Linked DNA regions of Homo sapiens: all the other regions are linked to region 1. Evidence: promoter capture Hi-C in 16 types of primary human blood cells and fetal thymus (Javierre and others, 2016). All regions are on one chromosome and are shown on one strand. Each heading gives the region's core, a stretch centred on a gene start or on the middle of the fragment in contact. The rest is flanking DNA. Distances are from core to core; before and after follow the strand shown. Region 1 holds the start of CD2BP2 (CD2 cytoplasmic tail binding protein 2). Region 2 overlaps CDIPT (CDP-diacylglycerol--inositol 3-phosphatidyltransferase). Region 3 holds the start of TMEM219 (transmembrane protein 219). Region 4 overlaps SRCAP (Snf2 related CREBBP activator protein). Region 5 overlaps SRCAP (Snf2 related CREBBP activator protein). Region 6 has its middle 14 kb from the start of FBRS. Region 7 has its middle 3.2 kb from the start of PRR14.

Region 1 (3,292 bases), core at 210-2,709:
TGAGATGGGTTCTTGGCCAGTTGCCTGGCACAGCTCCCAGTATTGGGTTTTGGTGGGGGGGGAGGGGGGACAGCAGCCCAGCCAGCCGCCTCCAGCTCGCGCCAGCCAGTGCCCACAGCCAAGTCTCCAGCTCTTCCTGGGTTTCTGCAGCCAGCTTGTAGGCCCGCCCACCTGTGCCCTCCACCCCAGGGGTCAGGATGGTAAAGGCATAGGGTTCTGCAGCCTTAAGGTGTGGTTCCACCTGGCAGTTCTCTAACAGGATGAGGCTCAGGGGTGCATGGTCGGTCTAGTGTTCTAGGTAGAAGAGGAGGTTTCCTCGGAGGATGAACCATCGGCGCTGGTAGCTGAGGTTTCGGGTCCCCTTCTTTAGCAGAATGCCTTCCTGGTCTGGGGCCTGTGTTCTGTAACCATGGAAGAAACTGAGCACGGACTTTCTGTGCAGTTTTCATCGTGATCCAATATGGGAGGAAACCCCTAGGGAGAGAGAAGTGGCCCATCTAGTTGCCTGGGGGAAGAGTAGGGGAACTCTCATGCTGTCCTCGTCTGGCTTCAGCACGTGCTGCCTGCGCACAGTCTTGGCTTAGGGGGATGCAGGCTCCGAGTGTCAAGAGCTAGGGGTCCCAGCACAGGGGCTGATCCCCGCTACCTCCCCAATTCCCCCTTCTGCTTGGGCCACATTCCGCTACCTGGGCAGGAGTTGCTAGGCCCTGTTTGCTCAGGGGGGCTTCATGCTGCAGAGAGGCACTGTTGCCCTTTTCCAGGCCTACCTGAGAGCAGGGCACAAGGGGCTTCTGGCCTGAGTACTGGCGCCAATGCCACCTCTCCAGTGATGGCTCTCCCACCTCAGAAACCAGGAACTCGCCCAGGGTATGGGCGTGGGACAAATTATTTCCCCTGGGTCCTAAAGGGAGGTGTGTTCAGAAAGTGCCCGGAGAGCCGTCCAGGGGCCCCAGGCTGGCCATCGGGAGAGTCAGGCTTCCCCTCGGAGAGGCAAGGCTGCACCTCTCAGGCTAGGAGGGCTGACCACTGGACCATAGGAATGGGAAGGCAGGATTTCTAACGAGACGGTAGGGGCGCTGAGCCCTTAGCCCTGGGGGAAGGGTGACTTGAACCCAGGACAGGAAAACGGAGCAGCAACCCACTGACCCTGCTCGGACTTTGCCCCTCCATCCTGACCCTGGGCGGCCCTTTAAGCAGATGCGCTCCAGTTTTTCTCCAGAGCCTCTACTGCTTGAATGACGGACTCGAAGCTACTTCCGGCCATTTCTCACGCCCAGTCAGAGTCCAGGAATTCTTAGGTTCCCTCTTCTCACCATTGTCCTCCCACGTGACTGACGTCACTTCTGGCGGGAGAGAGGGTGGAGGCGTCTTCGCTCGCTTATCGCATACTTCCGCCCGCTCTTCCAGTTAGTTCCCTAACCCGAGTGAAGCCACTTCCGGGCTTCCCGGGCGCCTTCCGCAGTCCTCTTCCGGGTGATGGCGGCCGGGTGCCCCGGATGTAGCCCTGGCGCAAGCATCTCTTCTTTTTTCCACCTCGCCTTCCGCGGATTCCCAGGTGAGTGCGCGAGGGTGGGACCGCCCGAATCCCCGTGGCCCTCTAAGTTGTACACAGCCCGGGACAGTTGGGGCTCACCACACGGAATTGGGAGTTCGGAGCAGGGAGGAACGGGGTGGCGAGAGCGCCAGGTCCTGGGTCTGCCGGGGCCCGGCGAGCTCCGAGAGAGCCAGGGTAGAGAGCGGGGGTCAGCCCGTGGAGCCGGTGGCGCGCAGACTGCGGGGGCTGGAGTTGGGGGCGGTCACGTGGTGAAGCCTGTCTCCTTTCAGCCAGGGTCGGGGGATCCAGAGGGTCCGCTCCTCCGTCCCCGCCCCGTTTAACTCGCGGATGCTAGACCCAAGTCCTGGAGGCCTCCTGGCTGCCAGCTTCCTTTCGGCCCCTGCTTTTGTGCTCCCTCCGCTCCCAAACTGTACCTGTCACAGACCAGGAAAAATGTTTGCTGTGCTGCGTCTGTTGGCGAGTCCCCTCCTCACCCGGTTCCCTTCCTCTGCATCCTTTCCTCAGCTTGAGAAACACCTCTTTGCCCCGTCATGCCAAAGAGGAAAGTGACCTTCCAAGGCGTGGGAGATGAGGAGGATGAGGATGAAATCATTGTCCCCAAGAAGAAGGTGAGGGGGCCAGACTGCTTTGTGTGGGGGAAAGAGGAGCTAGAAGCCTGAAGAGGAAGAAAGCTGGCGGGAGAGGGGCGGGGCGGGCAGGCAGAGAAAAGCCTAGTTTTTTCAGGTTCTCTGAGGAATGGGTTGGGAGCGTCTTTAGTGTGGCTCCTGAAATATTTGGGGAAGTAGTCGAGATCCTGAAATATTTGGGGAATATTTGGGTCCAGATCCGGAAGTATTTGGGGAGGTAGCCAGTAACCTGCATTTCTCAACTTTCTGGCTCCTGCTCACAGCTGGTGGACCCTGTGGCTGGGTCAGGGGGTCCTGGGAGCCGCTTTAAAGGCAAACACTCTTTGGATAGCGATGAGGAGGAGGATGATGATGATGGGGGGTCCAGCAAATATGACATCTTGGCCTCAGAGGATGTAGAAGGTAAGCTGTACCCAAGAATACACTCTGCTGGAAAAACAAGTAGGGGCCTCTGGTGGTGTGGAGCGAGGGAGGCTCCGGTCTCTTTTTTCCATGCCTGGAAAAGGGCACCTGTGTCTTTGGTGCAGGTCAGGAGGCAGCCACACTCCCCAGCGAGGGGGGTGTTCGGATCACACCCTTTAACCTGCAGGAGGAGATGGAGGAAGGCCACTTTGATGCCGATGGCAACTACTTCCTGAACCGGGATGCTCAGATCCGAGACAGCTGGCTGGACAACATTGACTGGGTGCGGCCCAGGGGCTGGCGTGGCTGGGGCCTGGGAGTGGCAGATGCTGGGCCTGCTCCCGTGGCAGTTGGTGGGAAATCACTCCATCTTCCCATTACAGGTGAAGATCCGGGAGCGGCCACCTGGCCAGCGCCAGGCCTCAGACTCGGAGGAGGAGGACAGCTTGGGCCAGACCTCAATGAGTGCCCAAGCCCTCTTGGAGGGACTTTTGGAGCTCCTATTGCCTAGAGAGACAGTGGCTGGGGCACTGAGGCGTCTGGGGGCCCGAGGAGGAGGCAAAGGGAGAAAGGGGCCTGGGCAACCCAGTTCCCCTCAGCGCCTGGACCGGCTCTCCGGGTTGGCCGACCAGATGGTGGCCCGGGGCAACCTTGGTGTGTACCAGGAAACAAGGGAACGGTTGGCTATGCGTCTGAAGGGTTTGGGGTG
Region 2 (3,292 bases), core at 793-3,292, 500 kb after region 1:
TACTAAAAATACAAAAATTAGCGGGCTTGGTGACGCGTGCCTGTAATCCCAGCTACTCGGGAGGCTAAGGCAGGAGAATTGCTTGAACCCGGGAGGCGGAGGTTGCAGTGAGCCAAGATTGCGCCATTGCACTCCAGCCTGGGCGACAGAGCAAGACTCTGTCTCGGAAAAAAAAAAACAAAAAACAAAAAACAGTGTATTCAACAGGTGTTTACTGGAGGCCTACTGTGTGCCCTGCATAAGCAGTTGGGGTTCCAGAAGGCATGCTTAGAGGGAGGATGGAGAGGGAAGGGTGATGGCTTCTGGAGGGTTGACTAATTTTTTAATCTGTTCTCCAGACCCAACTGTAAGGCTTCCCCTGAGGCATCAAGTCTCTATCTAGCCCTGGAGTCTTGGTTCTGGGGTTGATGAGTTGCAGACATAGCTTTCCTCTCCTCCTACCCTGTTCCCTCCACTCTCATGCCTTTCTCAGTTCATGCCATGGTGACCTTTGCCCACTGACCTCACACACAGCCTGTTTTCTAGCCTGCGTTCCTCCCCAGGCAGGCGGACACTTCCAGTCTTCGTTTACACCCTGCGTCAGAGTGATAAACCAAATATGGGCACCTGTCCTGCATCCACTGTGCCATAACAGCCCTTGCCCACCTAATCTTCCAGGAACCCGGTTTGGGGCCATGCTGGACATGCTGACGGACCGCTGCTCCACCATGTGCCTGTTGGTCAACCTGGCCCTGCTGTACCCTGGAGCCACGCTGTTCTTCCAAATCAGCATGAGTTTGGATGTGGCCAGTCACTGGCTGCACCTCCACAGGTCTGCTGCGATTCTGGGGGCCTGGGCCACTTGGAGACATTACAGTGGGGTGGGCTGAGCCTAGACGGAAGGGTGTCTGGGATGGCACTAGGCATCCTGGAAGGGCTCCTTTTTAGCTCTGCTTTGTAGAAAGACCCCAGGCAAACCTGCCTCTCTTTAAAGCTTCAGTCATGTTTACAGTTGCATTAAGCAATTCTTAGGACTCTTCTGGCTGGGTATTCTAGGATTCCATATAGGTGACAGCTTATAGGAAGGGGCATGGGAGCTTTCAAATGTGGCATTTGAATCCTGACTCTGCCCCCAAATAGGTAACTGTGGCTTTCGGCAGGATACTGGTCCTTAGCCGTGCCCAGTTTTCCATCTGTACAATAGGTGTTAACATGAGGATTGGATGCATGGTAGTGGTCATGAAACCTTGTGGGTTCCCCTGTTTTCTCCCCAAGTTCTGTGGTCCGAGGCAGTGAGAGTCACAAGATGATCGACTTGTCCGGGAATCCGGTGCTTCGGATCTACTACACCTCGAGGGTAAGCATTTCCTGCACACCCCACCCCTCAGGCTCTTGGCTGTGGGAAGCCCTGGGCTGAATCCTGGTCCTAGCCTAGGAGAAGGCGAGGGCGCAGAGCAGGGCCTGCCCAGTCACTCCAGGAGGAGGGCCCGTAAGCTGAGGCGTGGAGGAGGAGGATTGGTGGGGAAGGCCTGTGTGAATTACTCCAGGGAACAAGTGGGAATGAGGCCTGCAAAGAGAAGGGACTGAAAGCGGGAAGGGAGATAAGCCAGAGAGGTCTGCAGGGCTGGAGTGTGGACTTGATTCCAGGAACACAGGCAGCCTCTGGAAGGATTTTTAAAAAGATAATGGCTGGGCATGGTGGCTCATGCCTGTAATCCCAGCGCTTTGGGAGGCTGAGGTGGGAGGATTGCTTGAGGCCAGGAGTTTGAGACCAGCCTGGGCAACAAAGTGAGACTCTGTTTCCACACACACACAAAATCTTGAATTAGCTTAGCCAGGCACAGTGGTACACGCCTGTAGTCTCTACTTAGGAGGCTAAGGTGGAAGGATTGCGTGAGACCAAGGGTTTATTTATTTATTTATTTATTTTTTTGAGACAGAGTCCTGCTCTGTCACCCAGGCTGGAGTTCAGTGGCGGGTTATCGGCTCACTGCAACCTCTGCCTGCTGGGTTCAAGCGATTCTTGTGCCTCAGCCTCCTGAGTGGCTGGGACTACCGGCACGTGCCACCACACTCGGCTAATTTTTGTATTGTTAGTAGAGAGGGGTTTCGCCACGTTGGCCAGGCTGGTCCCAAACTCCTGACCTCAGGTGATCCGCCTGTCTCAGCCTCCCAAAGTGCTGGGACTCCAGGCATGAGCCACACGCCTGGCTGAGACCAGGAGTTTTGAGGCTGCAGTGCTATGATCATACTACTGCATTCCAACCTGGATGAGAGAGCGAGACCCTGTCTGTAAAAAAGAAAAAAAAATAAGAGAAGTAATATGCCGAGATTGTGCCTTCATTAGTGCTGGGGGGGCAGGGGGTGGCACACGCCTGCCTCTTGCTAACGTGGCCTGTTTGCTGTGTGTGCAGCCTGCTCTGTTCACCTTGTGTGCTGGGAATGAGCTCTTCTACTGCCTCCTCTACCTGTTCCATTTCTCTGAGGGACCTTTAGGTAGGAGATGAGGGGCTGGGCAGGAGGATGGGAGGGGGATCTGGCCTGCCCAGGGAGATGGAGGCCCCCTCCTTCGGGCCCCAAACTCCCCTGCTGCCTTCCTGCAGTTGGCTCTGTGGGACTGTTCCGGATGGGCCTCTGGGTCACTGCCCCCATCGCCTTGCTGAAGTCGCTCATCAGCGTCATCCACCTGATCACGGCCGCCCGCAACATGGCTGCCCTGGACGCAGCAGACCGCGCCAAGAAGAAGTGACGCTGGAGCCCCGGGTCCTGGCTGCCCACCTGCCCTGGGAGTCTTGCTGTGCCACACAGCTCCCCACCCCCTGCTAGGAGGTCCCAGTCTCACGCCTTCCTCATGTGTTGTTCTACCTGCTGGGATGGGGGTCAGCCTCTCTTTGGTGACGTCACGTTCTCTGGGATCCTGAGGACCCGGGCCTCAAATCAGGGAGGATACGCGGGAGGCCCCCTCCATCCAGGCGGTGCTCCTGGGGTGCCGGGACCGGGCAGTGTCACACCCTGCCTGCTCAGTCCTGGGGTCCGAGATGCTAGGGACGCTTGAGTGAGGGAGGTGGTGTGAGGGCCAGGTTTCCTGAAAGGCGGGAGTCAGACCTCCGCCCCCAGCCAGAGCAAGCTTGGGGCACCATGCCCAGGAGGGAAGAAGCCATCCACAGCCTTCCCTGTCACCGGCTCCTCTGTCCTGCCTACCCTGGTCCTGGCGGGACTTCACTATTTGACTTGGTTTCCTTTCAGATATTCTTGGCTCAGGGCCTGGGTTGAGGGAGCTTAGGGAAGGACGTCCGTCTGGGTGCTTTTCCTC
Region 3 (3,292 bases), core at 488-2,987, 390 kb after region 1:
CGCTCGCTCTTACCCCTCGGGGCCGGGCGGAGGCCGGCGCCCCCCGCGACGTCACGAGCGGGGCCGCGAGGGGGCGGGGTCCGTGCTCTGCGCTTCCGTCCCCGACCCTCCTCCTCGCGCGGCCCCGCCCCGCGGCCGGGTCCGCATGCGCAGTGGCCACGCGGGCGCCAGCCTCGCAGCTCACCGCCAGGGTGGGGGCGTACCAAAGGGACACCCAAGGAAGGAGCCACCAGAAAGGAAAACCTCCGTGGGAGGGGTGGAAACGGGAGCGAGGCCAGGGAGCAAGTGCGAGAAACGTCGCAGAACCCGTAGGCTCCCTCCAGAGAGACTGGCGAGAACTGCCCCAGAAGCTTGTCGCGGGCATTTTTGGGCTGTGCGTCCCCTACCCGCGCCAATAGCACAGACCAGCCGCGCCCGGGTTCCCGGTGAGGACTCGGCATCCGCTCAGAGTTGCAGGGCTGCCACTTGAGGACTCTGTCCACTGGGGCTGGGAGTGGTGTTTTGGACTCCGCTCTTCTGTGCACCCCGATCTGCACCTTTCTCGTGGACCCTGACTTTTAGTGACTCCTTAATGTATAGGATGCTGGAGCTGAAGAGTTGCTCAGTAGAGAGCATCTCAGTTCACTTCTGCCCAAGTTTTGGAGGTGAGAACATCTGACTGGAGGTAGCATGACACATGGAGCCAGGAACTTTGGGTTCAAATCCTGACTGTCCGTACCCTCGCATAAGCCATAGCCGCGCTCTCAGGGGACTAAGCTTACCCCTCTACTAAAGAGGATCATCCTATCTATCTCACCGGTTGGATCAGAAGCTTAAAGGGTAAAATGTGGGAAAACATGGGCCCAGTGCCCACTAAGCACACAGGACAGATGCTACTTGAAACGGAATCTATTTAATTCGACTGTGGCTTCCTTAAGGCAGAGGCCATGTCGTTTGTATCAACAGCCACAAAAGTTTGTGGCACAAAACCTTCGCATATACAAATGATTTTTTTTTTTTTTGAGACGGGGTCTCAGTCTGTCGCCAGGCTGGAGTGTAGTGGCGCGATCTCGACTCACTGCAACCTCCGCCTCCCGGATTCAAGCTATTCTTCTGCCTCAGCCTTCCGAGTAGCTGGGACTACAGGCGCACGCCACCACGCCCAGCTAATTTTTGTATTTTTAGTAGAGACGAGGTTTCACCATGTTGGCCGGGATGGTCTTGATCTCTTGACTTCGTGGTCTGCCCGCATCGGCCCCCCAAAGTGCTGGGATTACAAGCGTGAACCACCACACCCGGCCGATTTTTTTTTTTTTTTTTTTTTTTTTTTGACAGAGCCTTGCTCTGTCATCGCCCAGGCTGGAGTTCAGTGGCACAATCAAAGCTCGCTGCAGTCTGGACGTCTTGGGCTCAAGAGATCCTCCCGCCTTAGCCTCCTGGGTAGTTGAGACAGCCGGTAGTCACACGCCACCCACCATGCCCAGCTAACTTTTGCATTGTGTGTAGAGACGGGGTTTTGCCATTTGCCATGTTGCCCAGGCATGTCTCGAACTCCTGACCTCAAGCAGTCCTCTCGCCTCGGCCTCCCAAAGTGCTGGGATTACAGGCGTGAGCCACTGTGCCCTGACTAGTCAAATGATTTTTGACAAGGGTGCTGTGGGCGTTCAGTAGAGAAAAGAGTCTTTTCTGTGCATCGAAGGACACAACAGGCTGGGCACGGTGGCTCAAGCCTGTAATCCTAGCACTTTGGGAGGCCGAGGCGGGTGGATCACCTGAGGTCAGGAGTTTGAGACCAGCCTGGCCAACATGGTGAAACCCCATCTCTACTAAAAGTACAAAATTAGCCAGGCATGGTGCCGGGCGCCTATAATCCCAGCTACTCCGGAGGCTAAGGCTGGAGAATCGCTTGAACCTGGGGAGTGGAGGTTGCAGTGAGCTGAGATTGCACCACTTCACTCCAGCCTGGGCAAAAGATCAAAACTCTGCCCCACAAAAAACAAAAACAAAAAAAGGAAAGGACAGTGAAAAGGCAACCAACAGAATGAGAGGAAATATCAAATCATATATCTTATAAGGGGTTAATATCTATAATATATAAAGAACTCCTACAACTCAACAACAGCCCAATCTCAGCTCACCTCAACCTCTGCCTCTCAGGCTCAAGGGATTCTCCTGCCTCAGCCTCCCGAGTAACTGAGATTACAGGCACACGCCACTATCACCTGACTAATTTTTGTACTTATTAGTAGAGACAGGGTTTCACCATATTGGCCAGGCTGATCTCAAACTCCTGACCTCAAATGATCCACCCGCCTTGGCCTCCCAAAGTACTAGGATTATAGGCGTGAGCCACCGCGCCCGGCCTAATTTTTTGTATTTTTAGTAGAGATGGGGTTTCATCATGTTGGCCAGGCTGGTCTCAAATTCCTGACCTCAGGTGATCCACCCGCCTCAGACTCACGAAGTGCTGGGATTACAGGTGTGAACCACCGCACCAGCCAAGTATACCAACATTTTGACTTAATCCACTCAACAAGCCCTCAAAGTGGATGTTATTCTGGAAAGCTGGCCCTTAGTTTAAGTCAGGGGTCCCCAACCCCTGGGCCGTGGGGCCAGTACCAGTCCGTGACGTGTTAGGAACTGAGCCGCACAGCAGGAAGTGAATGGCTGGTGAGAGAAGCTTCATCTGTATTTACAGCTACTCCCCATTGCCTGCATTACCGCCTCAGCTCTGCTTCCTGTCAGATCAGTAGCGGCATTAGATTATCATAGGAGCATGAATCCTATTGTGAACTGCGCATGCGAGGGATCTAGGTTGCTCCTTATGAGAATCTAATGCCTGATGATCTCTCACTGTCTCCCATCAACATCAGATGGGACTATCTAGTTGCAGGAAAACAAACTCAGGGATCCCACTGATTCTACTTTATGATGAGTTGTATAATTATTTTATTATACCTTATAATGTAATAATAATAGAAATAAAGTGCAAAATAAATGTAATGTGCTTGAATCATCCCGAAACCATTCCTCCCCTGGTGGAAAAATTGTCTTCCATGAAACTGGTCCCCAGTGCCAAAAAGGTTGGGGACTGCTGGTTTAATTTAACCAAGGTCATACATATATTAGGTGGCAGAAGTTGGGTTATGATTTAAGCCTGACCACAGCATGGCATGTGGGAATGAGAAAGCCCTGTTGAGGCTCGTTCATTCAATAAGCATCTGTTGGCTGCCAGGCTGTGTATTCTGTGGGCTGGGAATATAGTGGTGGACAAAGTATTCATGATCTCTGGCCTCCTGGAACTACAATCTGG
Region 4 (3,292 bases), core at 312-2,811, 370 kb before region 1:
TATAATCCCAGCATTTTGGGAGGCCGAGATGGGAGGATCACTTGAGGCCAGGAATTCGAGACCAGCCTGGTCAAGAGTGGGAGACCCCCATCTGTATTTAAAAAAAAAACCAAAAACTATTGTACAGTTTAAATGGGTAAATCGAATGGTATATGATTTATAGCACAAACTGTTACCAAAAAAAACCAAGTGGCAAGAGGCTATTATCTACTTGCAGAGCAATCCCTCTACTCTCTACTTCCAACCAGCCAGGACCAACCTAGCGGCTGGTCAGGTAAAAACCAAAGGTGGAGTCAATGGCACTGGTGGAAGGTGGGGGAGTAGGCATGAAGCAAAGACTAAGCAGCAGCTCTGATTACAGTGGGGAAAAGCCAGAGGGCGTGGAGGGACCCACTGGACCTTCCTTCTCCTTAGTTCTGGTTTACTTAAGCTGAACTGTGAGTTTAACTCAAGTACTACACAGACATGGGCCTATATACATAGTACAGGAAAGAAACAGCTACCGGAAATCATAAAAGGGACAGAGAAGAGTTCCTTTTACTGCCCATTTATTACCGTGCGGGTTAAAAAACGGGAAAAGAGGCCGGGCGTGGTGGCTCACCCCTGTAATCCTAACACTTCAGGAGGCTGAGGCAGGCGGATCATGAGGTACACGCCCAGGGAAGAGAAGGGACTTGTCCAAATGTCACTCAAGTACTTGGTCCATAACATTAAGCTTTGTAATTCACCAGGTTAAATGTGACATCACTGTTCCATCCACCCTACCAACACTCCAAAGAAACTCAACTTCCTGTTCCCTCTTGAGGAAGTAAAACTTACCAGATAAAAAGGGGAACGAGGTGGTGGGGGGGGCTGGCGTCGAGGCCGGGGGCCACCAAACGAGGTAGCAGTGGAGGGAGGGCTGGGGGGACCAGAGCGCAATGTCAGTGTGTCAGGCTCATCCTTGGAAACAGGCAGCCGGGATACCATGGTGACAGGCAAGGGAGCGGCACCAGATGCCGAAACCACAAGGGAAGATGCCTGGGAAGCTGGGGACTGTGTGGAGGCTGGGGCCAGCGCCAAGGTCTGAGCTGCGGCCGGGCCCAGGGTAGGAACTGGGGCAGGGCTCAAGGTCAGTGTCTGCACTGAAGCTGGGGCCAGGAGTGAAGCAGATGACGATGCTGGAGCCAAAGTCAGCGTGTGAGCTGGGGCTGGGCCCACTGGAGAAGCTGGAGCCAGAGGGGGTGCTGGAGCCAGAGACAGCGTCTGAGTTGGACCCAGTGGTGGTCCTGGTGCCAAAGACAGTGTCTGGGCTGGAGTTGGTACCAGGGATGATGCTGGAGTTAATGACAATGTCTGAGTTGGAAAGGGTCCCTGGGGGTTCCCCGTTCCCAAAGAGAGTGTCTGAGATGGAGATGAGCCTCCAAGAGTGGGTGCTAAAGCTGGGGCTAGGGCCAGTGTCTGCGTAGAAGCCGGGCTCGGGAGAGGTGACGGAACCGGGGCTGGTAGCATAGTTTGAGTTGATGATGGAGCCAACACAGGGGTTGGAGCTGGTACCGGTGAAGCTGAGGCTAAAGAGGTTCCTGGAGTAGACGATGGAGCCATAACTGGAACCGGAGTCTGTGATGAAGCCAGGACAGGAGCAGCACCTGGCGATGGTGCCAGGACCGGAAGAGGAGCCAGAGGAGGAGCTGGAGAAGGAGCCAGAATTGCTGTCTGTGGAGCCGCCATAGGAGCCAGAGGGGTGGCTAGAGCCTGAGATGCAGAAGATGCTGGAGCCAGAAGGGAAGCCTGAGCTGGAGCTGGATTTGGTGCTGACGGAAAAGGACTGGCCAGAGCCGAAGCTGGCACCAGGACAGGTGAGCATGCTGGGGCCACGGTTGAGTTCAACCCTGGAACATGTGAAGAGGTGGGAGCCAACAACAGAGGGTGACCAGGTGTCTGAGATGAAGACAGGGATGGAGCTGTGGCCAAACCTAGAGTCAAGGCTGATGCTGACGGGGAAGCACCAGATGGTGCCAAGGAGGGAGGTCCAGGAGCCGCTGGGACAACAGGTGCCAATGGTGGAGTCACACTGGTCAACAGAGCTGGGCCCGAAGCAGAAACAGTCAAGGGGGCTGAGATGGGGATGGTGAGTGGAGCCGAGGCTGGGGCAGGAAGTGTGGTGGGGACAGAGATGGGGAGTGAAGATGACAATGGAACTGAGACTGTAGAGGACACAGGACTAGCAAGGGGAGAGGAGTTGGGAATTGGCATTGGAGAAGAGGCTGGCCCAGGGAGGGAGGATGGCACGTGGAGAGGAGAAGAGATGGTCAAGGGGGCAGCTCCGGGGGCTGAAGCTGTGGAGAGAGAGGATGAGTTAGCCCCAGAATTCTTTTCCTGAGCCTTTCTACTCCCTGTCCCATCTTTCCCATACCCCCAAGCTTCCCATTTCCCAGAAGGCATTCACTCCCACAACATGAAGTCAAACATCCAAGTAATCTGACAACTTTAGATTTTCTTCCCCTCCAAGATTCCAGCAAATAGATCTTGAAATTAGGTCAGGGCTCAGGCAGCCCAGTTCTGGGGCCCACTACAAATCAAGGCAGTACGCTGATATGAAAAAACCTGTACTAAAACTAAGAAACCTTGAGGCGACCCCATCTCGTCTCCATTCCTGGCAAGGATTTCTGGCCTCAGCCACCTGGACTCACCACTGACTTCAGGTGAAGGACTGTGGACCAGCTTGAGAAGAGGCCTCACCAGAGTGGGTGTGGGCATGGGGGCTCGAGCAGTACCCAGAGTAGGTGTGGGTAGCCGGCCAGGGGTTAACGTGGGGCGTGGATTCAACACAGCTGGAAGCCCAGAGCTCGGAGGCCGGGGTGCTGGGGCCAATGGAGGAACAGGAGTCAGTCCATCCCGAGGGGCTTGTCTCACTACAATCTTCACCACGCCTGTATTATTCACCATGGTTGGTGGCACTGCAAGAGGAAGCTACACTGAGAGGAAGGTAGAAAAGAAACAAAAGACCCAAAGAATGGAAGAAGTCCAGGGGCAGGAGAAGGTGGCAGACAGGTATCATAGATATTCGCAAGGGAAAACAACACTGAGGGAAGGCTGGACAGACAGTAGCCCAGCGCATGCCTGGAAGGACCAAGGCCAGCAAGGGCTAAGTAGGAAGGCCAGGAGCCTCACCCTGGTTAGCAGCAAGCGGAAGGCTGAGGCCAGTAGGGGCAGGGGTGGTGCTGGGGGTCGAAGAAGGCAGCACAGAGACAGGGGTAGGGCCAGGGGTCGGGGCCACGGCCTGGATGAGGGCCACATGGGCAGGCTGGCT
Region 5 (3,292 bases), core at 316-2,815, 350 kb before region 1:
CATGAGGAAAAAAGCATTCCCAGCAGCATAAAGTCTATGTGTAAATGGACAGAGATATACAAAAGAAAGGTGGGTGTGGAGTGGAAGGGAGAAGGAATGAACATGGCAGGAGGCAAGACCGAAAATACAGACGGAAACTGGGTAGTACTTAAGAAATAATTACAACTTACTATACAGGCAGTGGGAACTTTGACGGAATTTAAGCATGTGCTAAGTGGCACAAATACATTTCAGTAAACACATGCTAAATGCCCTGCAAGGGACAGATGGCCTAGAGGTGTCAAGGAGAACTATTAACAATCCCCAAAGGCAGGACCCATATTTTGCCACTATACTTTTTTATCCATACAACATAAACGTCATTAGAGTTGCCTGAAATTATATTTACTCCCTCAAGAAGTTTTGATCATTCCTACTACCACGCCATCTACCAATCTAATCCAAGGCCATTTTCCTTTCCTGATCCCCACTGTCTACCTTCTCCACATTGCTCCAGAACTGCCTGACATCCTTGGCCATGGTGGAAGCAATTCGACGCAGCTTGGCCTGCTCCTCCCTCCGGGCCCGTTCCTCTTTCTGCCGCTGCTCCTCGTGGTGCCGGATCACCATGCGCACCACCTGTGGGAATGAAGACCCAGGGTGAAAACACTCAAAGCCAGACTTCCCCACCCAAAGGCAAAGAAAATAATCAAGGCCAAGAAATCTGGAAAATCAAGAGTTTGCTCTTAATGCCTACACCATTCTGTCTGGTCCCCTTCCAACAAACCGGGAAGGAACAGACCTGAAAAGGAAAAGGAAGGAAGTCCCAGCGGAAGACCTACCTTCCGGGCCACACCCCGTTTCCAACGGCGCTCCTGAGCAAAGTCAGCAGAGAGCCACTGCATCTCTTCGCACAAATAGTCCCAGTGACCTTTGGGGCGAGGGGGCTCTGGCACCTTAGGCAGCCTCTTCAGTGACCAGAAACCCTCCTTCCGCAGCTCAGCAATCCGAGTCTCGATCTCGGCCTCCTAATCAGGGAGAGCCAGATCAATCAACAGTTCTAAACACACACTCCATCTCACTGCCACGGCTGAATTCCTGAGCACTAAGTGGGCTGAGTGTGTTATGCTTATGTTTAGTCCACATACCAAACTTACAGGCAGGTATCATACTCTCTTCAGAGAAGGGAAAAAAGATCAGGGAGATGAAGAAGGAAAAAAGATCAGGGAGATTAAGTGATTTGCCCAAGATCACACAGCTAGAAAGTAATAGAAAATGTGAATCAAAAATAGGTCTGAGGACTCCAGACAGCAAATTTCATGCTCTTTCCATTATTTAACACAATCTCCACACCCCATAGACATAGGAGAGACTTGGGAAATCATATCCCAAGAGGAGCTTCCCAGAGGAGTAGGGAACACATACTTCCCTCTTGATTCTAGATACAAGGGGTCATCATCATTGTAGAATTCTACTTACTCAGAGTATTTTCATGATGCATTAAGCTTAGAAATATGCTATAATGCCCAACTGACACACTGTTGTTTTTAAAAATACTACTTTTGTAAAAATGCATATGTTTATGTAAAAAATACTGAAACGTTATACGTGAAATGTTTAACACTGATTAGGTGTAAAAAAGAGTGGTCATTTTTACTAAAGCTTCTACACTGATTGTCTTTTATTTAAAAAGCATTTAAAATTTTTTTGACAGAGACGACTCAAAAAATTCAGGACAACTGCCTTATTTCTTTTTCTGAATCTCACTCAGAAATCTGAGTGAGATTTTTCTGGGTCTCACTCTGCTGCCTAGGCTCAGGTTATCTTCCCAACTCAGCCTCCCAACTCAGCCTCCCAGGTAGCTGAGACTGACTATAGGCACATGCAACCATGCCCAGCTAATTTTTTTGTATTTTTCGTAGGGGCGAGGTTTCACAATGTCAAGGCTGGTCTGGAACTCCTGGGTTTAAGCAATCCGCCTGCCTGGGATTCCCAAAATGCTCAGATTATAGGCGAAAACCACCGCACCCAGCCTCTGTCTTTGTTATTTCTGTCCTCTCCTGATAAAAACTAAATCAGAGAAAATGACAGCCAGAGACCAGACAGGACTAAATGGCCTGACAGTGAAGGAAACATCAAGAAAGACGTGGATATTAGACCAGCTGCTCTCAAACTTGAGGAGGCACCGGAATCATCTGGAGGACTTTTAGAAACAGGTTGTGCTCACACCTGTAATCCCAGCACTTTGGGAGGCCAAGGCGGGTGGATCACAAGGTCAGGAGATCGAGACCATCTTGGCTAAAACGGTGAAACCCCGTGTCTACTAAAAACACAAAAAATTAGCCAGGCATAGTGGCGAGCGCTTAGTCCCAGCTACTCGGGAGGCTGAGGCAGGAGAATGGCGTGAACCCAGGAGGCGGAGCTTGCAGTGAGCCGAGATCATGCCACTGCACTCCAGCCTCAGCGAAAGACTGAGACTCCGTCTCAAGGAAAAAAAAAAAAACCCAATTGTGGCCGGGCGCAGTGGCTCATGCCTGTAATCCCAGCACTTTCAGAGGCCGAGGCTGGCAGATCACAAGGTCAAGAGATCAAGACCATCCCGCCAACATGGTGAAACCCCATCTCTACTAAAAATACAAAAAATTTAGCCGGGTGTGATGGCGGGCGCCTGTAGTCCTAGCTACTCAGGAGGCTGAGGCCAGAGAATGGCTGTGAACCCGGGAGGCGGAGCTTGCAGTGAGCCAAAATTCTGCCACTGCACTCCAGCCTGGGCGACAGAGCGAGACTCCGTCTCAACAAAATAAATAAATAAAATAAAAATAAAAATAAAAAATAAAAACATTGCTGGGCCCTACCCTCATAGTTTCAAATGGGTCGGTGGGTGAGAGGTACCAAGAATTTGCATTTTTTTTTGAGACAGAGTCTCACTGTTACCCAGGCTGGTGTGCAGTGGCATCATCTCAGGTCACTGCAACCTCCGGTTCCCAGTTCAAGCAATTTCCCTGCCTCAGCTTCCTGAGTAGCTAGGACTACAGGCCTGCGCCACCACGCCAGGCTAATTTTTGTATTTTTAGCAGAGATGGGATTTTGCCACGTTGGCCAGGCTGGTCTCGAACTCCTGACCTCAGGTGATCCACCCGCCTCGGCCTCCCAAAGTGCTGGGATTACAGGCATGAGCCACCACGCCCGGCAAAGAATTTGTGTTTCTACTAAGTTCCCAGGTGATGCTGATGCTGCTGGCCCAGAGACCACACTTACCACTGGATAAATGTAATACAGACTGCACGATAGAAATAAATAGAAACCAGTAAAT
Region 6 (3,292 bases), core at 382-2,881, 320 kb before region 1:
GGCAGCTCAGAAACTGCATCAAGTGAGGGAAGAGGGAGGTTTCTGACTTGAGTGCTGATGACACAGAGATGGAAACCTTGGGGGAAGTGGGGCATCAGATCTCGAAGATGACTTAATTTGGGATATCTGAGGTGCTTGGGGAGAGATCTAGGAGAGGTGGGATAGGCATGTCTAGAAAATATTTAACTCTACTGGGCACGGTGGCTCACGCCTGTAATCCCGGCATTTTGGGAGGCTGAGGCGGGCGGATCACCTGAGGTCAGGAGTTCGAGACGAGGCTGGCCAACATTTAGTGTGACTCCTGTCTCTACTAAAAATACAAAAAATTAGCCAGGCATGGTGTTGCATGCCTGTAATCCCAGCTACTTGCGAGGCTGAGACAGGAGAATCGCTTGAATCTGGGAGGCGCAGGTTGCAGTGACCTGAGATTGTGCCACTGCACTCCAGCCTGGACAACAGAGCAAGACTCTGTCTAAAAAAAAAAAAAAGAGAGAGAGAAAGAAAGAAAATATTTCACTGAGAGTCACTCTCAAATGCCTATAGGGGCCAGAGAGGTAGCCTGAATAGTGACTGTGGTCTACTCCAAGACAACAAGTGGAGGGGACAGTCGCAATCTGGTGAGATTATGCCCCATTTCAAAGGAAAGCCATGGGGGTAAGCAGGTCTAGTGACCACAGATTTTTGGATTTTTCAAGAGAAGCTGAAAACAAGAACTTCCATGTGAAATCTTGTCTGCAAGCCAACGTTCACCTTCTGGTCACTTGTTTCTGACTTCTGTTGGAGCAATCTAGGCTTGAGCCTTCCCTAGACATCCTGGATATGTGTGGTGGTGGCAGGGAATGTTGGCTGCATCTTTCCTAAGGCAACAGGTACATTTATGGGCCAGGCACAGTGGCTCACGCCTGTAATTCCAGCGCTTTCAGAAGTTGAGGCAGGAGGATTGCTTGGGACCAGGAGTTTGAGACCAGCTTGGACAACAAGACAAGAACCCTGTCTCTACAAAAATTTAAAGCTAGCCAAATGTGGTGGCACAGGCTTGTAGTTCCAGCTACTCGAGAGGCTGAGGCAGGAGGATCACTTGGGAATAGGAGTTCGAGGCTGAAGTGATCTGTGATTGCACCACTGTACTCCAGCCTGGGCAACAGACCGGCTGTTGTTTTGCTCAAAAGCTGCCTCAAAAGCAAAACAAGTCTGGGTGTGGTGGCTCACACCTGTAATCCCTGGACTTTGGGAGGCCAAGGGGGTAGATAGCTTGAGTCCAGGAGTTTGAGACCAGCCTGGGCAACATGGAAAAATTCTGTTTCTACAAAAAATACAAAAACTAGCTGGGTGTGGTGGTGCATGCCTATAGTCCCAGCTACTCGGGAGGCTGAGGCGGGAGGACTGCTTGAGCCCAGGAGGTGGAGGTTGCAGTGAGCTGAAATCATACTACTACACTCTAACCTGGGTGATAGAGTGAGACCCTGTCTCAAAAAAGAAAAAAAGCAGGCATACTTAGAATAAGGTCACTCAGTCAATTCTATAGGAGCTCAGGTAGGCAACAGCCCTGACAGCCCAGTTTAGTAGTGACTTGCTTTTTTTTTTTTTTTTTAGACAGAGTCTCGCCCCGTCACCCAGGCTGGAAAATCTCAGCTCACTGCAACCTCCGCCTCCCGGATTCAAGTGATTCTCCCGCCTCAGCCTCCTGAGTAGCTGGGACTACAGGAGTCAGCCACCATGCCCAGCTTTTTGTATTCTGTAGTAGAGACAGGGTTTCACCATGTTGACCAGGCTGATCTTGAACTCCTGACCTCAGGGATGTACCCATCTTGGCTTCCCAAAGTTCTGGGATCACAGGCGTGAACCACCACGCCTGGCCTTCGTGTTTGAGTCACATTTGGTTAATTCTCCCATTATCTCAAACTTTTCCATTATTGTATCTATTATAGTGATCTGTGATCTTTGATGTTACTATTGTAATTGCTTTGGGGTGCCACAAACAGTGCCCATGTAAGAGGGCGAACTCAATCAATAAATGTGTGTTAACTGTTCTCTCTCTGTGCTTGGGCCTCCCTCTTCCCAGAGACAATATTCAAACTAGGCCAATTAATAACACCCTACAATGGCCTCTAAGTGTTCAAGTGAAAGGAAGAGGCAATCAAGGAGGCAAAGTTCCTTGTTGTCAAGAAACCGCCGTCATCCCAGCCTTCACCGACCACCACCTCAGTCAGTCAGCAGCCATCACCAATGAGGCAAGAACTTCCACCAGCAAAAAGATTACGACTTGCAAAAGCTCAGATGACTGTTAGCATTTAAAAAATTAAGGGATGTACCGTTTTCATAGACATAACACTATTGCTCACTTAAGACTGCAGTATTGTGGAACAGTAATTTTTTTTTTTTTTGGAAATGGAGTCTCGCTCTGTCGCCCAGGCTGGAGTGCAGTGGCGTTACCTCAGCTCACCGCAACCTCAACCTCCTGGGTTCAAGCAATTCTCCTGCTTCAGCCTCCTGAGTAGCTGGGACTACAGGCGCACGCTATCATGCTTGGCTAATTTTTGTATTTTTAGTGGAGACAGGGTTTCACCATGTTGGCCAGGATGGTCTACAATCTCCTGACCTCGTGATCCATCTGCCTCAACCTCCCAAAGTGCTGGGATTACAGGCGTGAGCCACCATGCCCAGCCAGAACCATAACATTTATATGCACCAGGAAATGAAAAAATTCATGTGCCTCGCTTTGTTGCAGTGACCTGTAGTAGCTAGAAAAATAACTGGAGGAATTTCCCCGAAAATTAACAGTGGTTGCCAGGTGCGGTGGCTCACGCCTGTAATCCCAGCACTTTGTGAGGCCAAGGCAGGCAGATCACCTGAGGTTGGGAGTTAGAGACCAGCCCGACCAACATAGAGAAACCCCATCTCTATTAAAAAAAAAAAAAAAAAAAAAAACAAAATTAGCCAGGCGTGGTGGCGCATGCCTGTAATCCCAGCTACTCGGGAGGCTGAGGCAGGAGAATCGCTTGAACCCGGGAGACAGAGGTTGCGGTGAGCCGAGATCGTGCCATTGCACTCCAGCTTGGGCAACAAGAGCGAAACTCCGTCTCAAAAAAACAAAACAAAACAAAACAAAGCAAAAAACTGGTTATCCTCAAGAGGTGGGATGATGGAGCACTTTCCCTCCGTGTTCTGTATTTGTGTGTTTGAATGGTTTTATAATGACTATGTATTACTCCACAAAAACCAGAAAAATTTTAAATTACAGATCTTTTTAAACATACTCTGCCTGTGCAGACATGTGCGAGAACACATAGAA
Region 7 (3,292 bases), core at 291-2,790, 290 kb before region 1:
CTGTTATCCCAGCACTTTGGGAGGCAGAAGATAGCGGATCACTTGAGGCCAGGAGTTCAAGACCAGCCCGGCCAACATGGCAAGACCCCATCTCTAAAAAAAAAAATACAAAAAAATGAGCCGAGCATGGTGGCGCACGCCTGTAGTCCCAGCTACTCAGGAGGCTGAGGTGGGAGGCTCTCTTGAGCCTGGGAGGTCGCAGCTGCAGTGGGCTATGATCGCGCCACTGCACTCTAGCCTGGGCGACAGAGACCCTGTCTCAAAACAGACAAACAAACAAGGGATGATATGGAAAGCATAATCGAGAAGGGCTTATGTGGGAAATGGAGGCTCCCCAGCTCCGTCCCTAAGGACTCATGCAGGGAGACGTTCTTGCAGGACTACAGCATCTCTGTAACAGGAGGTCCGCTGGGTCCTCTGGAAACCCATTCAGACTTCTGGTGGGAGCAGGCCGCCGTGGTTCTTCCACGTAGAGGTGTTTCTCTCCCTCTGGATCAGGGCTGGCAGTATGGGTGCCTGAGGAGGTACAGTGATGTTTCATCCAGCTGTGAGTGCTTGGAGATTCTTTCAACCTTGCCAAATTAAGACCTAAACCCCACAGGTGCTTTTCAGGCCCCAGGGCAGGAAAAACTTTCAAAAGCAGAGCAGGCCTAACCTGAGTTTTTAGGTATTTTTTGTTTGTTTGTTTTTTGTTTTTGAGACGCTCTGTCGCCCAGGCTGGAGTGCAGTGGCGCCATCTCAGCTCACTACAACCTCCGCCTCCTGGGTTCAAGCGATTCTCGTGCCTCAGCCTCCCAAGTATCTGGGACGACAGGTGCTCACCACCACGGCCGGCTAGTTTTTTGTATTTTTAGTAGAGACGGGGTTTCGCCATGTTGGCCAAGCTGGTCTCGAACTCCTGGCCTCAAGTGATCTGCCCGCCTCGGCCTCCCAAATTGCTGGGATTATAGGCATGAGCCACCACACCTGGCCCTAATCTGAGTTTTGATTCTCTAGGTCTCTTGAAGTCAATGACACCAAGGGTAAAAGATGTAGTCCAAAGAAAAGTCCTGGACCTGAGTATTTGGTAGGAAGAGCCCACCAGTGTGACCCTAACTTGGGGTGCTAGAGTTCATCAAATGGAAGTCTAAGGTAGACTGTGGCAGTCTTGGCCCTTAGCCCAGGCCAGCAAATGTGAGCCCTCATGATCTTGCGGTCTCACCTCTGCTCTTTTTGTGACTTCCCATTTCAACAACTTTACTTTGCCCACTGCCTACACAGGTGGTGGACACACTGTGGGGTGTACCACAGTGTATGCTGATGCATTAGCAAGAGGGCCCCACACAGCCTCCAGTGGGGCTGCTGGTGTGGCCGTGGGTGCACTTCAGTGTGTCATTATTCAGAAACTCAGGGTCCGTTTAGACTCTGGGCGGCCCATCTTTCTTTTTTCTTTTCTTAGACAAGGTCTTGGTCTGTCACCCAGGCTGGAGTGCAGTGGTGTGATCATGGCTCACTGTAGCCTTGACCTCCTGGGCTCAAGTGATCCTCCCACCTCAGCCTCCCAAGTAGCTGGGACTATAGGTGTCCGCCACCACGCCCGGCTAATTTTTTGTATTTTTAGTAGAGATGGGGTTTCACTGTGTTAGCCAGGATGGTCTCGATCTCCTGACCTCGTGATCCGCCCACCTCGGCCTCCCCAAGTGTTGGGATTACAGGCGTGAGCCACCGCGCCTGGCCTGGACCCTTTAAATATATATATATATTTAAATTTTTTTTACCAGCCAGCATCATGCTAAGTTTTGTCAATAGATGGCTGGAGAGACATTGCAGGAAGAAAGAGTTTTGCTTCCCAGTTCAGCAAACCCTCCTGGGAGGCTCCTGCAGCACAAGTGGGTTCCCAGCTCCCTGCTTCTGCAGGGCAGGGTGGCCAGCAGAACCCCAGGGTCAGCAGCTCCCCCAGGTGCCCTCTGGATGGTTTTGCAGTGGAGTTCCTCTGTGGAGACACCTGCCCATGAACAGCTTTCCCTGGCACCCAAGAGGGTGGATTTCCAGCAAGTTCCACCAGACTGACACTCCAGCAACTACTGTACTTCAGCGACTTCTGTACTTCTGTGCCCTCTCCAAAAACTTGTGGATCTCAGGAAGGAAGGAGGTCTGTCTTTCTTTCTTTCTTTCTTTTCTTTCTTTCTTTCTTTCTTTCTTTCTTTCTTTCTTTCTTTCTTTCTTTCTTTCTTTCTTTCTTTCTTTCTCTTTCTTTCTTTCCTTCCTTCCTTCCTTCCTTTCCTTCCTTCCTTCCTTCTTTCTTTTTCCTTCCTTCCTTCCTTCCTTCCTTCCTTCCTTCCTTCCTTCCTTCCTTCCTTCTCTCTCTCTCTCTTTCTTTCTTTCGACAGGGTCTCACTCTGTCACCCAGACTGGAGTGTGGTGGCTCACCACAACCTCCGCCTCCCAGGCTCAAGCGATTCTGCCTTAGCCTCCCAAGTAGCTGGGATTACGGGCACATGCCACCATGCCTGTCTAATTTTTGTATTTTTAGTAGAGATGGGGTTTCACCATGTTGACCAGGCTGGTCTCAAACTCCTGACCTCAAATGATCCACCCGCTATGGCCTCCCAAAGTGCTGGGGTTACAGGCATGAGCCACCGCGCCTGGCCAGAAGGAGCCTTTTTCTTGTATGCTCTGTCTCCGCCTGAGAGGAGCTGTGGCTGCTCCTTGTATTAGGTTGGTGCAAAAATAACTGTGGTTTTTGTCATTAAAAGTAATGGCAAAACCGCAATTACTTTTGCACCAACCTAATATCTGCTCTTCTTGCATTTTTTTTTTTAGAATTCTGTTTACTTCTTATTATCTGTAGTGGGCAGAATTTTGTCTCCCCACCTCCCCCCCACCCCACCAAAGATATTTTCAAATCTTGAACCTTTCACTTCCTCTGAATCTGACCTTATTTTGTTGTTGTTGTTGTTGTTGTTGTTGTTGCTGTTGTTGTTTGACACAGGATCTTGCTCTGTTACCCAGGCTGCAGTGCAGTGGCTGGATCTTGGCTCACTGCAGCCCTGACCCCCTGGGTTCAAGCAGTCCTCCTGCCTCAGCCTCCCGAGTAGCTGGGACCACAGTCACATACCTCCACACCCTGCTAATTTTTATTTTTATTTATTTATTTTTTTGAGATGGAATCTCGCTCTGTCACCAGGCTGGAGTGCAATGGCGCGATCTCGCCTCACTGCAACCTCCACCTGCAGGGTTCAAGTGATTCTCCTGCCTCAGCCTCCCAAGTAGCTGGGACTACAGGTATGTGCCACCGTGCCCAGCTAATTTT

The links. Contacts are between HindIII fragments. The CHiCAGO score rates a contact against its expected background, and 5 or more counts as called.
Region 2: a fragment that was not itself captured here is called in contact with the fragment with the promoter of CD2BP2 in region 1 in 1 of 17 cell types (monocytes); the score reaches 5.5 in monocytes.
Region 3: a contact is called between a fragment that was not itself captured here and the fragment with the promoter of CD2BP2 in region 1, in 1 of 17 cell types (non-activated CD4 T cells). The highest score is 5.1, in non-activated CD4 T cells.
Region 4: a fragment that was not itself captured here is called in contact with the fragment with the promoter of CD2BP2 in region 1 in 1 of 17 cell types (M0 macrophages); the score reaches 5.1 in M0 macrophages.
Region 5: a contact is called between a fragment that was not itself captured here and the fragment with the promoter of CD2BP2 in region 1, in 6 of 17 cell types (total B cells, total CD4 T cells, naive CD4 T cells and 3 more). The highest score is 7.3, in total B cells.
Region 6: a fragment that was not itself captured here is called in contact with the fragment with the promoter of CD2BP2 in region 1 in 1 of 17 cell types (total CD8 T cells); the score reaches 5.0 in total CD8 T cells.
Region 7: a fragment that was not itself captured here is called in contact with the fragment with the promoter of CD2BP2 in region 1 in 9 of 17 cell types (megakaryocytes, total CD8 T cells, non-activated CD4 T cells and 6 more); the score reaches 9.9 in megakaryocytes.

The regions. Positions count from the first base shown.
Region 1 is chr16:30,353,475-30,356,766 of GRCh38, reverse strand. CD2BP2 (CD2 cytoplasmic tail binding protein 2) reads left to right here and starts at 1,459. Exons shown (of 7, transcript NM_006110.3): 1 at 1,459-1,555; 2 at 2,060-2,163; 3 at 2,445-2,583; 4 at 2,709-2,866; 5 at 2,967-3,292. The coding sequence starts at 2,086. It overlaps CD2BP2-DT (CD2BP2 divergent transcript), which reads right to left and starts at 1,333. Exons shown (of 2, transcript NR_184233.1): 1 at 1,147-1,333; 2 at 1-474. RefSeq lists enhancers at 1,288-1,347, 1,428-1,487, 542-1,493, 1,225-1,519, 1,210-2,409 and 1 more. The HindIII fragment of the contact is 7,065 bases long and covers 1-3,292 here.
Region 2 is chr16:29,858,625-29,861,916 of GRCh38, reverse strand. It overlaps CDIPT (CDP-diacylglycerol--inositol 3-phosphatidyltransferase), which reads left to right. Exons shown (of 6, transcript NM_006319.5): 3 at 658-811; 4 at 1,255-1,336; 5 at 2,394-2,475; 6 at 2,583-3,292. The coding sequence ends at 2,728. Among named protein-coding and RNA genes, the nearest start is that of CDIPT, 3.0 kb to the left of the region's middle. RefSeq lists an enhancer at 726-1,264. The HindIII fragment of the contact is 2,133 bases long and covers 976-3,108 here.
Region 3 is chr16:29,958,854-29,962,145 of GRCh38, reverse strand. TMEM219 (transmembrane protein 219) reads right to left here and starts at 67. Exons shown (of 6, transcript NM_001083613.2): 1 at 14-67. RefSeq lists a silencer at 1-234 and an enhancer at 585-694. The HindIII fragment of the contact is 1,848 bases long and covers 814-2,661 here.
Region 4 is chr16:30,722,610-30,725,901 of GRCh38, reverse strand. It overlaps SRCAP (Snf2 related CREBBP activator protein), which reads right to left. Exons shown (of 34, transcript NM_006662.3): 23 at 3,154-3,292; 24 at 2,673-2,939; 25 at 820-2,318. Among named protein-coding and RNA genes, the nearest start is that of SNORA30, 14 kb to the right of the region's middle. The HindIII fragment of the contact is 1,687 bases long and covers 718-2,404 here.
Region 5 is chr16:30,704,898-30,708,189 of GRCh38, reverse strand. SRCAP (Snf2 related CREBBP activator protein) reads right to left here. Exons shown (of 34, transcript NM_006662.3): 5 at 822-1,007; 6 at 478-618. Among named protein-coding and RNA genes, the nearest start is that of SNORA30, 4.0 kb to the left of the region's middle. The HindIII fragment of the contact is 157 bases long and covers 1,487-1,643 here.
Region 6 is chr16:30,671,169-30,674,460 of GRCh38, reverse strand. No RefSeq gene overlaps it. Among named protein-coding and RNA genes, the nearest start is that of FBRS, 14 kb to the right of the region's middle. The HindIII fragment of the contact is 4,963 bases long and covers 1-3,292 here.
Region 7 is chr16:30,646,156-30,649,447 of GRCh38, reverse strand. No RefSeq gene overlaps it. Among named protein-coding and RNA genes, the nearest start is that of PRR14, 3.2 kb to the left of the region's middle. The HindIII fragment of the contact is 4,473 bases long and covers 1-3,292 here.